Regions from separate parts of the Homo sapiens genome. Here region 2 is linked to region 1. Evidence: promoter capture Hi-C in human tissues and cell types (Jung and others, 2019). All regions are on one chromosome and are shown on one strand. Each heading gives the region's core, a stretch centred on a gene start or on the middle of the fragment in contact. The rest is flanking DNA. Distances are from core to core; before and after follow the strand shown.

What was found. Contacts are between HindIII fragments. The study calls those that stand out against the background at their distance.
Region 2: a fragment that was not itself captured here is called in contact with the fragment with the promoter of FAM20A in region 1 in 2 of the 25 tissues and cell types used here (dorsolateral prefrontal cortex and mesendoderm cells).

The regions. Positions count from the first base shown.
Region 1 is chr17:68,599,903-68,602,976 of GRCh38, reverse strand. It overlaps FAM20A (FAM20A golgi associated secretory pathway pseudokinase), which reads left to right and starts at 1,610. Exons shown (of 11, transcript NM_017565.4): 1 at 1,610-2,714. The coding sequence starts at 2,311. The HindIII fragment of the contact is 4,098 bases long and covers 1,090-3,074 here.
Region 2 is chr17:69,226,290-69,229,526 of GRCh38, reverse strand. ABCA10 (ATP binding cassette subfamily A member 10) reads left to right here and starts at 703. Exons shown (of 39, transcript NM_001377321.1): 1 at 703-946; 2 at 2,242-2,382. The HindIII fragment of the contact is 7,757 bases long and covers 1-3,237 here.

The DNA of each region.
Region 1 (3,074 bases), core at 361-2,860:
CCAGAGGAGTGGAGTAGCTGGGAATAGTACCGTCTTGGGCTTTTTCACTTGGACTGGGCACTCAGGCCACAATGTTATGCCCCTGAAAGCAGGTTCCTTCCTGCTATCTTCCTTTTCCATCCTTTTCTATTTTTGTCCTAGCGATGAGCAGTCTCTAACCAAGCCTAGTGTACTACAGGAACTAATAAGTAATCATAATGATAGCAAACACATATTTCACACTTATTTAGGATGAGTTAGGAGCTCTTCTAAGTAATTTATACATAGTCAAGTGCCACATAACATTTTAGTCAATGCAACAGTGGTCCCATAAGATTACAATACTGTATTTTTACTGTATGTTTCCTATGTTTAGACACACAAGTACTCACCACTGTGTTACAACTCCCTACAGCATTCAGTAGTCGCATGCTGTACAGGTTTGTACCTAGGATCAACAGGCTATGCCATGTAGCCTCCGTGTGTAGTAGGCTGAACCATCTAGGTTTGTGTAAGTACACCCTGATGTTCACACACACAGGAAAATTGCCTAAGGATGCATTTCTCAGACGTGACACATAATTGTACTTCAATTCATTTAAGTCTCATAATAACCTTAGGAGGTAGGTTCCATCATTATCTTCATTTACATTTGAGGAGACTGCAAAGTCCCGAAGAAATCTTACACTGAACCACGGGGAAAAGAACTCTGGTCTGAACCCACAAGTCAAAGTATGTCTGAGGGTTCTCAATTCCAGCAAGGGAAGGGAGGGGGTTAAAGAGTAGAACTAACTTACATGGGAAGCTTTGCTGCCTGGGCAAGCAGCTTCTGGTGGATTTCCTGAAATTCAGCAGGGTGGGGCCGCCTCTCCAATCAGACTTCACTTTACTATACTATGGGGTCATTAAATAGAGGAGCCAGGAGTTCAGGACTCCCTCCCTCTTCTTCAAAAGGAAAACTGGGTGTGGGGAGGGTACATTACCTCACAGAATATTGGAGAAAGCCTAAATGTGTCCTCCAGTGATTCATTTGGGTGGACTACTTTCACACCAAGCTAAACTCAAAAGTTCGGAGTGGGGTCATCAGGGCCCCTCCCTCCCTGAGTGCAAGAAACATTTCCTCTTTTTAAAGTACAGGCAGAGTTGGAATCAAACTCCTTCCAAACAGGAAATCAGCAAGATTCTAGGTAAAACTGATACCTTACTTTTAAAGGTCAAGCTCTTTCCTTCACCAAGAGCGTGTTTCCTGAGCACCTACTATGTGCCAGGCATGTGGTAGGTAGTTGTTATGAATCTTGATGTGCCCTGCGCTCTGCAGGGGGGCGGAGGTGGAAGGGAACACAAAGAAAGAACAGATACCAACACTGCCACCCCCGCCTCCCCCCACCCCCCCCCACACACTCATTTGGCAAAGCTTACAGGAAAAAAAGGGTTTTAGGGGGCTTGTGGTGGTTTTTTTTTCCCTAAAAATAATAGAAATGGTAAAAAGAGGCTTCGGACCCCTCGCGTGAGTCCCTTAAAGTGACTGGATTGAGACCTGGGCAGGGAAAGTGGGAGGCCCGAGCGAGGGGGAGGGCGCAGGCAGTGGGTGGGTGACAAGGTGCAAGGGCAGCGCCGGCTTCGGATCGGGAGTTGGCCGTCAGCTGCGCCAGAGGCAGGTGCCAGCGGAGAGTGGGTGGGGGTGCCGGCGCCAGGCCAGGCTCGGGGAGGCCCCGCGCTACCTCTGCCTCTAGGAGTCCAGGCGCACAGACAAGCTCCCCGGAGCCGCTCCTGCTTCGCCAACTCCCCACTCGCGCCGCCCGTGCCAGCCGCCGGCACTGGCGTCTCCGCCGCCCGCAGGAGGAGTCGCGGGAGCACTAGCAGCCGCCGCCGAGCGACAGCATCCTCAGGAGAGACGCCCCGGGCTTTGCAGCCGGCGGCCTCCGTCCGCCCTCCGCGGTCGCCCCCCGCCCCGTCGCCCGTCCGCCCGCGGTGGCAGCCGGCGCCGGCGCCCCGGGGCCCTTCACCTGCCGCGAGCGTCCGGGCGGGCGGGCGCACGGGAGAAAAGGCGCAAGAAGCGGGCACCCCGGGAACCCCATTCCCTCGGCTCACTCGGCGCGGAGAAGCGACGCCCGCTGACTCCGAGAGCCCCGGTGCTCCGTGCACCTGGTCCCCAAGTTGAGGAGCGACACCCCTCCACAGGGGACTAGCCCGCGCGGGGAGCATTCCGGTCTCACTGACCCCGGCCCACCCGCGGGACTCCAGGCACCTCTTCTGCCCGCACCCCGCGACCCCTCCCGGGACCCCGGAGACAGCCGGCCTGCCCCCGGCGTCCCCCTTGGCCAGCACGCCATGCCGGGGCTGCGCCGGGACCGCCTACTGACTCTGCTGCTGCTGGGCGCGCTGCTCTCCGCCGACCTCTACTTCCACCTCTGGCCCCAAGTACAGCGCCAGCTGCGGCCTCGGGAGCGCCCGCGGGGGTGCCCGTGCACCGGCCGCGCCTCCTCCCTGGCGCGGGACTCGGCCGCAGCTGCCTCGGACCCCGGCACGATCGTGCACAACTTTTCCCGAACCGAGCCCCGGACTGAACCGGCTGGCGGCAGCCACAGCGGGTCGAGCTCCAAGTTGCAGGCCCTCTTCGCCCACCCGCTGTACAACGTCCCGGAGGAGCCGCCTCTCCTGGGAGCCGAGGACTCGCTCCTGGCCAGCCAGGAGGCGCTGCGGTATTACCGGAGGAAGGTGGCCCGCTGGAACAGGTGAGGACCCCGCCCGGGACGCGGGAGAGCGGGCGCTCTGGCCGGGGCCTCCCCGCGCCCCAGTCTCGAGTTTCCTGACGCCCCCGGCCCAGGGCTGCAGCGGCTCCACCCACGGCTCCAGCCCTGGCGCTGGGCTTAGAGTGTGTTCCCCACCCGAACCCCACCAGCTGTTGCAGACCTCACAGTCCAGTCCCGGAGTCAGATAGTACGAGGAAAAAGTTTCTATTGCAGCCGCACAGCGAAGAAACGCTCTCAGCCCCTTCCCCTTGAGCGCCTGGGTCGTCGTTGAGCCCCACTCCTGCTCCCTCGTCCACTCCCGCTCCCTCGTCCGCTCCCAAACCCCACTCTCTGTCCTGATGT
Region 2 (3,237 bases), core at 576-3,075, 630 kb before region 1:
AAAAAGATTTTCAGGGTTGATAAAGAGGCATTATTTGCCATTCTGAGAATATCCAATTTAGTTGTAGCTGAAAAAAAAGTAACAAAATCATTAAAGTTATGCCATCTAGTCTATACCACTACACTTTTTAAATGGGTATCAGATATCATTGTCTTGATTAGCACCATTTTCATAGTGGTAGTTAAGAGTGAGGGATCTTGGAGTCCAGATACTATTCTGGACTCATCTGTTGGCTTCACACTTATTTAAACATCTGCAAATAACTTCACCTGTTAGCCCCACCTTTCAAATTTGTTTAATGGATGTGAGTAGAGTACCAACTTTGTAGGTTTGCTTTGAGTATCAAATGGGAGAATTCATTTAAACCCTTAGAACACTTTCTAGTACATAGGAATTAGTGAATACAAGGAACCATTTAACTGAAATGCAGTTAACTTTCAGATGAAACTTTCTCATTGGAATGATTCAGATTTCTGAGATGAGCAATCCTCATTTTCTCTCTCTCTGTTCAACTTTATCTTTAATTTGCTCCTTTTTTAGCTTGGCTGTCAAATTTTTAATTATTAAAAGTCATGCAATTGTAAATATGTAGTTATCCATGCAATTGTAAATATGTGGGTTTTTCTTTTTGAATTTGATCTCTTTTTTTGTGTGTATGCCAAAAAGAGCAATAAACAAATACCAATGATGCGCTCAGCCAACAATTCATTACACTCTCTGAAGAGTAACTGGACAAGGAGAAAAACATAGGGAAAAAACCAACAGAATTTGTTGGCATGTTCTACACACAGACCATGGCTTTTCAGAAGCCAAGCTGAATCAAAACAGTTTTAAAAGAGGCAACCATTTGTAGAGGAGTCCTTGAAGGATTCTTCATTGTTTTCTTGGACAAAAAGAGACCAGTGGATCCAAGTGCTTCAAATACTTCTCTCTTATTTTCTTAACTGTAAGTTAAAATTTGTTTTACATTTTCACTTTGCATAAGGTTTTAAAGATATAAAGTATATAGCCAAAGCCAAACATATTGATTGAAATTTTTAAAATTATATTATTCAGATGCTCTAAATTATTTTATGCTTTATGTTATAGTACTAGTGAGTTATTTTATTTTAAAAACTTATGTAACATTTTAGTGTGATAAATGAAAGATGGCTAGATTCAGAGGTGTATATAAATATTATCAGACAATAAATTCTCTCTCTGACACTGCTTTGAATATCCTTTTGAGAATTTGTATGGTTTTACTTCTTTAGAATGTGTGAGCATTAGGGCAAGTTCCTTTTTTCTGTGTTCTTTTGTTCTTTTAAAATGTTTTTGTGGTTTGCTTATGGAGCTGTTTAAGTAGACCTCTGTATCCATAAAGTGAAGATTGGTGTTTTAATGTTTCTACTTTCTTAAGTTAGAATTTAGAGATTATATTGGGTTTTGCTGGCTTTGCCTTTTATTTTATGAAAAAGGGGAAATATAGCAAGTTCTCTCTGAACATTGTAATTTGTATATAATATCAACATTTATTCAAATGGACTTCAGTAGTCATAGTTGTGACACCAAATGATCAGCTCTGGATTTTCAAATTGAAAACAAAGAATAAGGATCATTATTACAAATCAATTACTCTAGTCATATTAGCCAATATTTTTGGTTTTAATCTGTATGTATCTTACATATTTACTTCATAAATGGAGATTTAAAAAAGAGGAATTAGCTTTTTGGGATTCTAAGAATGGCCGTAATGTTTTCGACTTTGCTTTGCCCAGTGGTTAACAAGATATCAAATACATGTGCCCAGATGTGCAATTCAAAATAAGACAGCTTGTGGTCAAATTGCTGACTGACAAGGAACTGCAAAGTGGTTTCTTCCTGTTAAACTTCTTTTTCTTAACAAGTAAAGAGAAAGTGTTTTTTGGATTCTAAAAATTACTAAGATCTTATTGAGGGATTTACTTTAGGTGGATGTAATGTTAAGATTTCATGGAAAAAAAGTGACTTCTGAGACAAAAGGAGAAAGGTCTTATATACTATCTCCTTTATCTCCCTCATAGCCATAAAAGCCTGGAGAGAAATAACAACTGAGAAGACATTTTATAATTACTAATACTTTATATTCTTTTTTAAAATCCTGATTGAATATGTTGCTACAGTGTCATATAAGGCATTTAGTTGGCACATCTGAAAATTATGCTTTCAAAATGTTCAAAGGCTTTCTGTAACTGAACTTTTTTTTTTTCTTTTTTCCCCTAGCTATTGCTCTGCAATATTTACTTTACCCTGTTAATGAACAGGACAAAATGGTTAAAAAAGAGATAAGCGTGCGTCAACAAATTCAGGCTCTTCTGTACAAGAATTTTCTTAAAAAATGGAGAATAAAAAGAGAGTTTATTGGTATGATTCACTATATATATATATATATATCCATAATTAATAAATGAAAATCCACCATATAGTATTATGCCATTTTTATTACTTTTCTTGTTTATAAATTCTGATTTTTAATTATCATACTGGCTAGTTGATTTGAGATTCTAAATACTGCAAAACGATATATATTTTGCAAAATAGGATAATATTTGTGTCAAATGTGAAATTAACTAAAAAGCTCATCTGACAGCTCCTGAAAAATAATCTTTTGCAGAATAGAACCAGCCATTTTCCACATAATTAATGCATTCAAATCTCAGAGTCATTCTGATTTACTCTTAGCTAACTTCTGTGTTGGGGGCAGGGACAGCCAGGGGAAAGATAAGCTAGGCAAAATAAAATAGATTTTTACGTGGGCAAACCCTGATACTATTTGGGGACATTTCGATTAATGTCATGTTATTTGGTAAGGCTGGGAAAATATCTATGAGTAAAAATCTGCAAACTTTTTTGGAATCTCTTCAAAGCCGTGCTTTTTGTAAACATAGAATGGTTTCATGGAATAAGATCACAGATTGTCAATACCTTTGCATTCTGTTGAGTTTCTTGTATGCTGACATGAATATTAAGACATTGCTTTGTGTTACTATGAGATATAACTGGATCTGCCTTGACCATGTAGAGATTGCAGTCTGTTCAGAAATAGTCAGTACCATTTCAGTGGGAGCTAACAGGATTTATATCATCCTTTTAAATTTCTGCAATAGCTTCCGAAGCAGTTCGATCAAATATTTTGCTTCGTATATTGAAGAAGGATACATCTATATTTATTACTCACTAGAATTTAAAAAAAGTATGTCAATCCAGAAATGTGAAAAT